2 separate regions of the Homo sapiens genome follow, and region 2 is linked to region 1. The links are contacts of gene promoters, found by promoter capture Hi-C in blood cells and fetal thymus (Javierre and others, 2016). All regions are on one chromosome and are shown on one strand. Each heading gives the region's core, a stretch centred on a gene start or on the middle of the fragment in contact. The rest is flanking DNA. Distances are from core to core; before and after follow the strand shown.

Region 1 (4,027 bases), core at 365-2,864:
TCTAAATTACAGATGTAATTTAACAGATCCATATTCACATGTATTTCTGCTCCTGTCATTTTTACTAATAGATGTTTCCACCAATATGACTATTTCATGTAACTTTTCAAGTTTTATCTCCTAACTTTGTTCCTGATATTCTCTAATGATTTTTAATGTCTGTTATTAATGTAGTGATAACATATTTGAAATTACTGATCTTGGGTATTAGAGCCTTCTTCATTTTTCCTTGATAAATTTCACCAGAAATTATCTGGCTTCAATAAGCAGTTTAAGGGATTTTACTTAATTTATTTCCCTTATTTAATATTTGTTTTTCTTCATTGCTTTTCTTGCCCTTATTATTTGCTTCATTCTGCTTTCATTGCTTTTACCTACTTAATTATAATTTAATTTGTTGACTTGGGTGATTATAAATATTCAGATATGTTTCCACTTTACAGATTTAGGCAACAAAATTTCCTCAAAGAAACTTATAGAAAAAAAATCCAATAATATATAAAATGATATATCATGACAGAAGGGCTTCTTATTAGAAACAAATTGGTTAGTTAAATATTTGAAACTCATAGCTGCAAATAATCACATTAAGAGAATAAAGGGAAAAACAAAATTGTCTCAAAAAATGTATAAAACTACATAACAGAATTCAGTATGCAGTCATGATACGTACTCTCAGCAAAGTAGGAATACAAAAAAATGATTAATCTACTACATTTATCTGCAAAAATGACAAAACGCTCATACATGGAAATTAAAGACCATTCCTTTGTGGATAATATGGCACAGGATATGTTATGAAAGGCTGTCCTGCCACAACACAGCACAGATGGGGTTGAAAGAAAGGAAGGGAAACAAAGGGCTGCCATGAATTAAACCAGTAGAGAAAATAAAAGCCTGGGTCATGCAGGGGACAGTGTCTTATTAGGCCAGCATCAGGACTGGTTGAAGTCTGGCGCTTCTAACACAGTGGGAAAATGAGCATAGTAATCACAATAAAGAAAGACATCTGAAAGGTGCTAACTTAGCCTCGGATCAGAAGTGCTCTCTGCTAATGCCTTGCTGGTGAAAAGCGTATCCAGTGTAAGCCCTCAGAAATCCCAGAAAACAAAGACCAAAAGAAACGGCGCCTTGTCAACCGAACGAATTGAAAAAAGCTTCCTGCCGCGATCGGGCATTAAAAGAAAAAAACCACAGACATAAGATGGAGTGAATAAAAAAAGAATTTATATAATTCATGGATGAAATGTTTCAGAATCTATAGGATTATATTTTTTTTAAGGCAGACAGATACGAAAATACAACGAAGCGTGCATGACCGAAACCAGAAGAGATTAAAGTAAAACCTCATTCTCCTGAGGAAATCGTGTGAGAAGGGACTTAGGGACTGCCGGAACACAGCGAAGCAGAGGCAGAAGGCAGACAAAAGGGGCTGGGTTGGTCCCCGCCTGTGTGAACGAAAAAATATGTCAGATTGGAAAATTGCGGTAAAAACCAGGCAGAGCACGTACGTTGCCCCCACAGGAAGTGTCCGCCATGCTGCCTGTGCCCGGAAGTAGGTAGGAACACACAGTCAGAGGGACCCAAAAGCAGGGGGGAAGGAAAAAGAGATGCACACTTCCCCCAGAGAAGCCTCCGAGCGCGGCCGCCATTCCGGGCCTCAAGCCCATAAAGAAAAAATACCGGAGAGGTTCTGGCACCATTTCGGGGTGCCAAAGCAGCCATGGAAGAGCCTGCAGCTCCCTCAGAAGCCCACGAGGCAGCCGGGGCCCAGGCAGGTGCTGAGGCAGCAAGGGAGGGTGTGTCTGGGCCGGACCTTCCCGTCTGTGAGCCCTCCGGGGAATCTGCTGCTCCAGATTCAGCCCTGCCACATGCGGCAAGGGGCTGGGCCCCCTTCCCTGTAGCTCCAGTCCCTGCCCACCTCCGCAGAGGAGGCCTGAGGCCTGCCCCAGCCTCAGGAGGAGGAGCCTGGCCCAGTCCGTTGCCAAGCCGAAGCAGCGGCATTTGGACAAAGCAGATCATCTGCAGGTATTATATACATGGGCAGTGCAAGGAGGGGGAGAACTGTCGCTATTCGCACGACCTTTCTGGTCGGAAGATGGCCACTGAGGGTGGCGTTTCGCCGCCTGGGGCCTCTGCAGGTGGAGGCCCTAGCACGGCTGCGCACATCGAGCCCCCGACTCAGGAAGTGGCGGAAGCCCCCCCGGCTGCATCCTCCCTTTCCTTGCCTGTGATTGGCTCGGCTGCTGAAAGGGGTTTCTTTGAAGCCGAGAGAGACAATGCAGACCGTGGAGCTGCTGGAGGAGCAGGTGTAGAAAGCTGGGCGGATGCCATTGAGTTTGTTCCAGGGCAGCCCTACCGGGGCCGCTGGGTTGCATCTGCCCCCGAGGCTCCTCTACAGAGCTCAGAGACTGAGAGGAAGCAGATGGCTGTGGGCAGTGGGTTGCGGTTTTGCTATTATGCTTCCAGGGGAGTTTGCTTTCGTGGGGAGAGCTGTATGTACCTCCATGGAGACATATGCGACATGTGTGGGCTGCAGACCTTGCACCCCATGGATGCTGCCCAGAGGGAAGAACATATGAGGGCCTGCATTGAAGCACACGAGAAAGATATGGAACTCTCGTTTGCTGTGCAGCGTGGTATGGACAAGGTGTGTGGCATCTGCATGGAGGTTGTCTATGAGAAGGCCAACCCCAATGACCGCCGCTTTGGCATTCTTTCCAATTGCAACCATTCCTTCTGTATTAGGTGTATCCGCAGGTGGAGAAGTGCCAGACAGTTTGAGAACAGGATCGTCAAGTCTTGCCCACAGTGCAGGGTCACCTCTGAATTGGTCATTCCCAGTGAGTTCTGGGTGGAGGAGGAGGAAGAGAAGCAGAAACTTATTCAGCAATACAAGGAGGCAATGAGCAACAAGGCCTGCAGGTATTTTGCGGAAGGCAGGGGTAACTGCCCATTTGGAGACACATGCTTTTACAAGCATGAATACCCTGAGGGCTGGGGAGATGAGCCTCCTGGGCCAGGTGGTGGGTCATTCAGCGCATACTGGCATCAACTTGTGGAGCCTGTGCGAATGGGAGAGGGCAACATGCTCTATAAAAGCATTAAGAAGGAGCTTGTCGTGCTTCGGCTGGCCAGTCTGTTGTTTAAGCGGTTTCTTTCACTGAGAGATGAGTTACCCTTCTCTGAGGACCAGTGGGACTTGCTTCATTATGAGCTGGAAGAATATTTCAATTTGATTCTGTAGCATCGTGCTGTGGCATGTGGTCTAGTCTGCTGAGGTTCTGTCGTCTGCTATTGCCTGTTTTCCCTGTGTTGACACTCTTACTGCTTTCAGGGGCTGTTGAGGCAGTGCTTCTGTTTTCTTGTCTATTCTGCATATCTTTCCCCCTAGGATTATGGTGATTATCTGTGTTAAAAAATAAGTCCTTAAAGTTACTGTTTTGGTGAAATTAATATTAATGTCAGCTTATGGCTTTTTTTTGTCATCTCTGTTGTCAACAGGATTAACTCAGTTCTAGTGTAGTGTTTACTGAATTTCCACACTTATTTTGAAGACCCTCAAGAGTAAATGTGGCAGAGTGAAAGGAGAAGTTTTAATTGAACTAGTAGCTTTGTGCTATAATAGCCTTAACAAATGGACCCTTGCAGGGCTTTGCAGCTGCTCATCTGTTTGTTTACAGTTTGTTCTTTCCCTCCTTCCCCTTCAAGTGCACTTGTTAAACTGTGATGAACTTGTGATTTTGTGTTTTACTTGACCAAAACCAAGTGTATATGTTTACATGTTTTTATCCTGTTTAGCTTGACATGAAATAATTTATATTTGGAAATATATATTTAAGAATTATATATATAAAAATATATATGTATAAGAGTTATGTATTTGAAAAAAATATATAAAAGAATATACATCACAATATAATATTTATGTTTATGTAATAAAGTAAATACAGAGCTGAAAGCTGAAGGTCAAAGCCTAACAGGATTGGCTGTTGTGTGGATGTGAGTTGTGTGAATAATCTTTCTG
Region 2 (4,053 bases), core at 257-2,756, 2.4 Mb after region 1:
TTGAAATAAACAAATGAGCTATTTAGACTATTTAAACTAAGTATTGCTGATTGTATAAATCCCCAAGAGAAAATTATATAATGTCCATGTAAGTGCCTTGGAAACCATGTAAACATTATATATCTACCGTCAGCCCTCCATATCTGTGGGTTCCTCCCTGTGGATTCAACCAACCCCAAATCAAAAATATTCGAGGAAAAAATGGATGGTTGTATCTGTACTGAATATGTACAAACTTTTTTCTTATTATAATTCCCTAAGCAATACAGTATAACAACAATTTACGCAGCATTTAGATTGTATTAGGTGTTGCAAATAATTTAAAGAAGATTTAAAATATCCAGGAGGATGTACATTTGGTTAGATGCAAATATGTTTATCCCATTTCTCCATCTTTTTGACAAAAATCTAATCATGAATGTTTTAGTGTCAGCTGACGTGCAACCTATCTTAAGGATATTCACTTCTAAACTAACATGTAATTGTAGAATAAATGATGCCATGTTTTTAGAGATATTTCAAGCATTTTTCTGCAACTAGAGGTAGTGGGGAAGAAAGGAGGAACAGAATGCAACCTTTCGTGACCCAGATAATACCTCTCTCTTTCTCAGGCCAGACTTGATGGCAAAGGTCAGAATTCCTTTCCAAGAAATAAACCAGAGTCCTTTGTCTTCCTCTTCCTACAAAGATATATGTTTTTGAGTGAACATCGCTTACTTATAAAGGCTGAAATGAAAAAAATGTGTATATGTTGCCAGCCCAACTATTTACTCTGTGAAGGTGTAAAATAGCCCACTTAATATTAGGACAGAACTGTTGATGTAAATCTGAAAGAAAAATGGGAGCATGGCTTTCACAGTAAAGCCTTTTGTTAGTGCTGAGGGCTTACACAAAGGCACAGTTCCCCTTTTGCCTGGGCTGTATAATATAGGATGTAAATTACAGCAGATTCCCTGAGCAGGGATGAAATTTATGGTGAGGATTCAGAAGGCTACATTTGAGATTCATGGATATCTAAATGTGCAGGCCACCATCAGCATCTGATATAGCTCAAGCAGTATTTTTGTTTTTTCTTTTGTAGCTTACGGTCTGTGATTTTGTTTATGCCTCCTGCCAAATGTACTATTACAAGAGTAGAACATTACATGCTCAATGGCTTAAAAGGCCAAGGAGGGTGGAACATGAGCACGAGTCCCATGTAGCACCCAGTGAAAGACGTTCAGGGCATGGAACAAGCTCCTCTAACAGGAAGCGTGAGACTTCACCAGCGAGCCGAGCTGTGCTGCTCTGCGTTTGCTGCAGGTGGAGAGGTGTCTTCTTTATCAGCCGTGAAGCTGGCAGTCAAAGGAGCCATGCATTAAGTTGCTCCGAGTGGGAGAGCAGGGGCCAGGGGAGTCTGGCTCTGGGGGCTGTGATGAGGACAAGCACTCAGCTGTGGGCCAGAGGAGACTCTCCTTATTTCACAGAGGGTCTTTCAGGTTCTTTGGCATCCATCAGAGAATCCTACTGCATAGAAGTATAAGGATTTCTTAAGAAAATCATCCCACTATTTTCTCTTCTTCAAAATGGGGAGGGAATTGTGACTACCTTGAAGAGAAAGTACCTTGCCTATGGGGGACACACTTGAATGGTGAACGTGTGTGTCCCTCCAAGTCAAAAAGCTCACCTCAAAATGAGAGGTGAAGCCAGCTGCGCTTCTGGATAGGGTGGGGACTTGGAGAACTTTTGTGTCTAGCTAAAGGATTGTAAATGCACCAATTAGCACTCTGTAAAATGGACCAATCAGCACGCTGTAAAATGGACCAATCAGCAGGATGTGGGCAGGGCCAAATAAGGGAATAAAAGCTGGCCACCGGAGCCTGCAGCGGCATGCAGATTGGTCCCATTCAGCGCTGTGGAAGCTCTGTTCTTTTGCACTTCACAGTAAATTTTGGTAGATTGCTGTTTTGGTATGTGCTGCTTTTGTGAGCAGTGATACTCACCGTGAGGAGGTGCAGGATCGTTGTTGAAGTCAGCGAGTCCACGAATCCACCAGGAGCAAAAAACAACTGTGTATGTGCCACCTTTAAGAGCTGTAATACTCACTGTGAGGGTCTGTGGCTTCACTCCTGAAGTCAGCGAGACCATGAACGCAATGGGAAGAAGCTCCAGTGACATTTGAACGTCGTGAAAGAGCAGACTGTAGACAGTGTCTTTAAGAGCTGTAACACTTACTGAGAAGGTCTGTGATTTCATTCTTGAAGTCGTTGGGAGCGAGAACCCACTGGAAGGAATGAACTCCTTCCACGAAAATAGCAAAGCTGTTGAAATTAAGGAGAATAAAGCAACTTTGCCAGTTGTTTCTGAAGCTGTGATGAAGAAGGGGTCTTGGTCTTTCCTGGCCACACTGGGGACAGGGAAGCCAGGAGTGAGGTGGGAGTAAGTCTCTAGCCTTGTGCTGTTCATCGTTCACCCTTGGATAAAGAAGAGCAGGACCTTTGGAGCAGGGAGAAATCACTTATCTGCCTTAAAGAGAAGAACCTATACCCGGCTGCGTGGTGTGGCTCATGTTCGTAATCCCAGCAGGTTAGGGGGTTGAGGAAGAATTGCTTAAGGCCAGAACTTCAAGACCAGCCTGGGCAAAATAGTGAGACCCTATCCTTCCATTATAAAAATAAAGTAATAGCAAAGGGTGGGGCACATGTTTGTGTGGAGGACTGGAGGTCTGGGTTTTCACCCAGGATGTTCTCTTCTCAGGACTGTTTTTGGCAGTGCTCTCAGCTTTGGCTTGAACTCCAACAGGCCTAGAACGGGGAGCTGCTGCTTCTCTCCCTCCTCTCTCTTTGTTCAGTCAACAAGCCCCTCCTGAGCATCTGTTGTATAAACTCACTTTGCTGGGATGCATGAGAGGACTTGCAACACCATTTCACAGCAGAACGCAGGCCTCTGTGAGTTCAGTCTGTCAGTATTTTTTGAGTGTCTTCTATGTCAAAATGCCATGTGGAGATAAGCAAAAAATAGAAAAGAGACACTGCTGTGATGGTTAATTTTATGTGTTGCCTTGACTGAACTATGGGTGCCCAGATTAAACCTTGTTTCTGGATGTGTCTGTGAGGTGTTTCGAGATGAAGTCAGCATTCACACTGGGGGACTCAGTAAAGTGGATCACCGTCTCCAACATGCGGCACTGCATCCACCCTGGTGACAACCTGGGTAGAACAAAGGGAGGGAGGAGACATTTGCCTCTTTTTTTTCTGCGTCACTGCTTAAACTGCAAGATTTCATCTCATCTTTTCCTGTCCTTGAACTGGGGGTTACACCATTGGCTTCCCTGGTTCTCAGGCCTTCAGACGCTAAATTAGATACTAGCTCTACTGAGTCTCCAGTTTGCAGATGGCAGATGGTGGGGCTTCTCAGCCCTATAATCACATGAACTAATTCCTCATTATCTATTTATCCATCTATCCATCTCTATTTGTCTATCCATCTGTTCAACCATTTCTATCTATTTGTGTCTATTCATTCATCCATCCATTCATATGTGTCCATCCATCCGTCTGTCTCTAGTCATCCATCCACATCTATCTATCTATCATCTATCAATCATCTATCAATCCATCCACATATCCATATCTATCTATTTATCTATCTATCCATCCATCCATCCATCCATCCTATTGGTTGTGTCTCTGGAGAACATGACTAATACAACCACCCTTAAGGAGGTTTTGGTTTGGAGAGAGAACTTCCTTGCTGTCTGCCTGCCTGCCTACCTGCCTACCATGCTTGTTATGTTATTATTTTATGGTGTTTTTCTTTTGGCCCCTATTAACCTAGTAGCCACTGTGCTGGGCTCAGGGGGGACATCAAGCTGCCATGTCTAAGCTTGGCTCTAGGGGAAATGCACACAGAGGCTAAGAGGTCATAGTAAGGGGCTGAGACTCGAAATGGTGGTGGTTAGGGTGGTTTCACCAGAAAATTACAGGTTGGGGAGAAAAAAAAATCCTGGGGAAGTAAAATAAAGATTAAGTTCATCTAAAAGTAATCTTTTCCCAGAGATCTTAAAATACTCGG

The links. The method cuts DNA at HindIII sites, captures the fragments that hold promoters and counts their contacts. A CHiCAGO score of 5 or more calls a contact.
Region 2: a fragment that was not itself captured here is called in contact with the fragment with the promoter of MKRN3 in region 1 in 1 of 17 cell types (M0 macrophages); the score reaches 5.4 in M0 macrophages.

What each region holds. Positions count from the first base shown.
Region 1 is chr15:23,564,060-23,568,086 of GRCh38, forward strand. It overlaps MKRN3 (makorin ring finger protein 3), which reads left to right and starts at 1,615. Exons shown (of 1, transcript NM_005664.4): 1 at 1,615-3,985. The coding sequence starts at 1,724. The coding sequence ends at 3,247. The HindIII fragment of the contact is 4,614 bases long and covers 1,156-4,027 here.
Region 2 is chr15:25,971,433-25,975,485 of GRCh38, forward strand. The region is part of intron 1 of LINC02346 (long intergenic non-protein coding RNA 2346); the gene reads left to right. Among named protein-coding and RNA genes, the nearest start is that of LINC02346, 71 kb to the left of the region's middle. The HindIII fragment of the contact is 4,712 bases long and covers 1-3,862 here.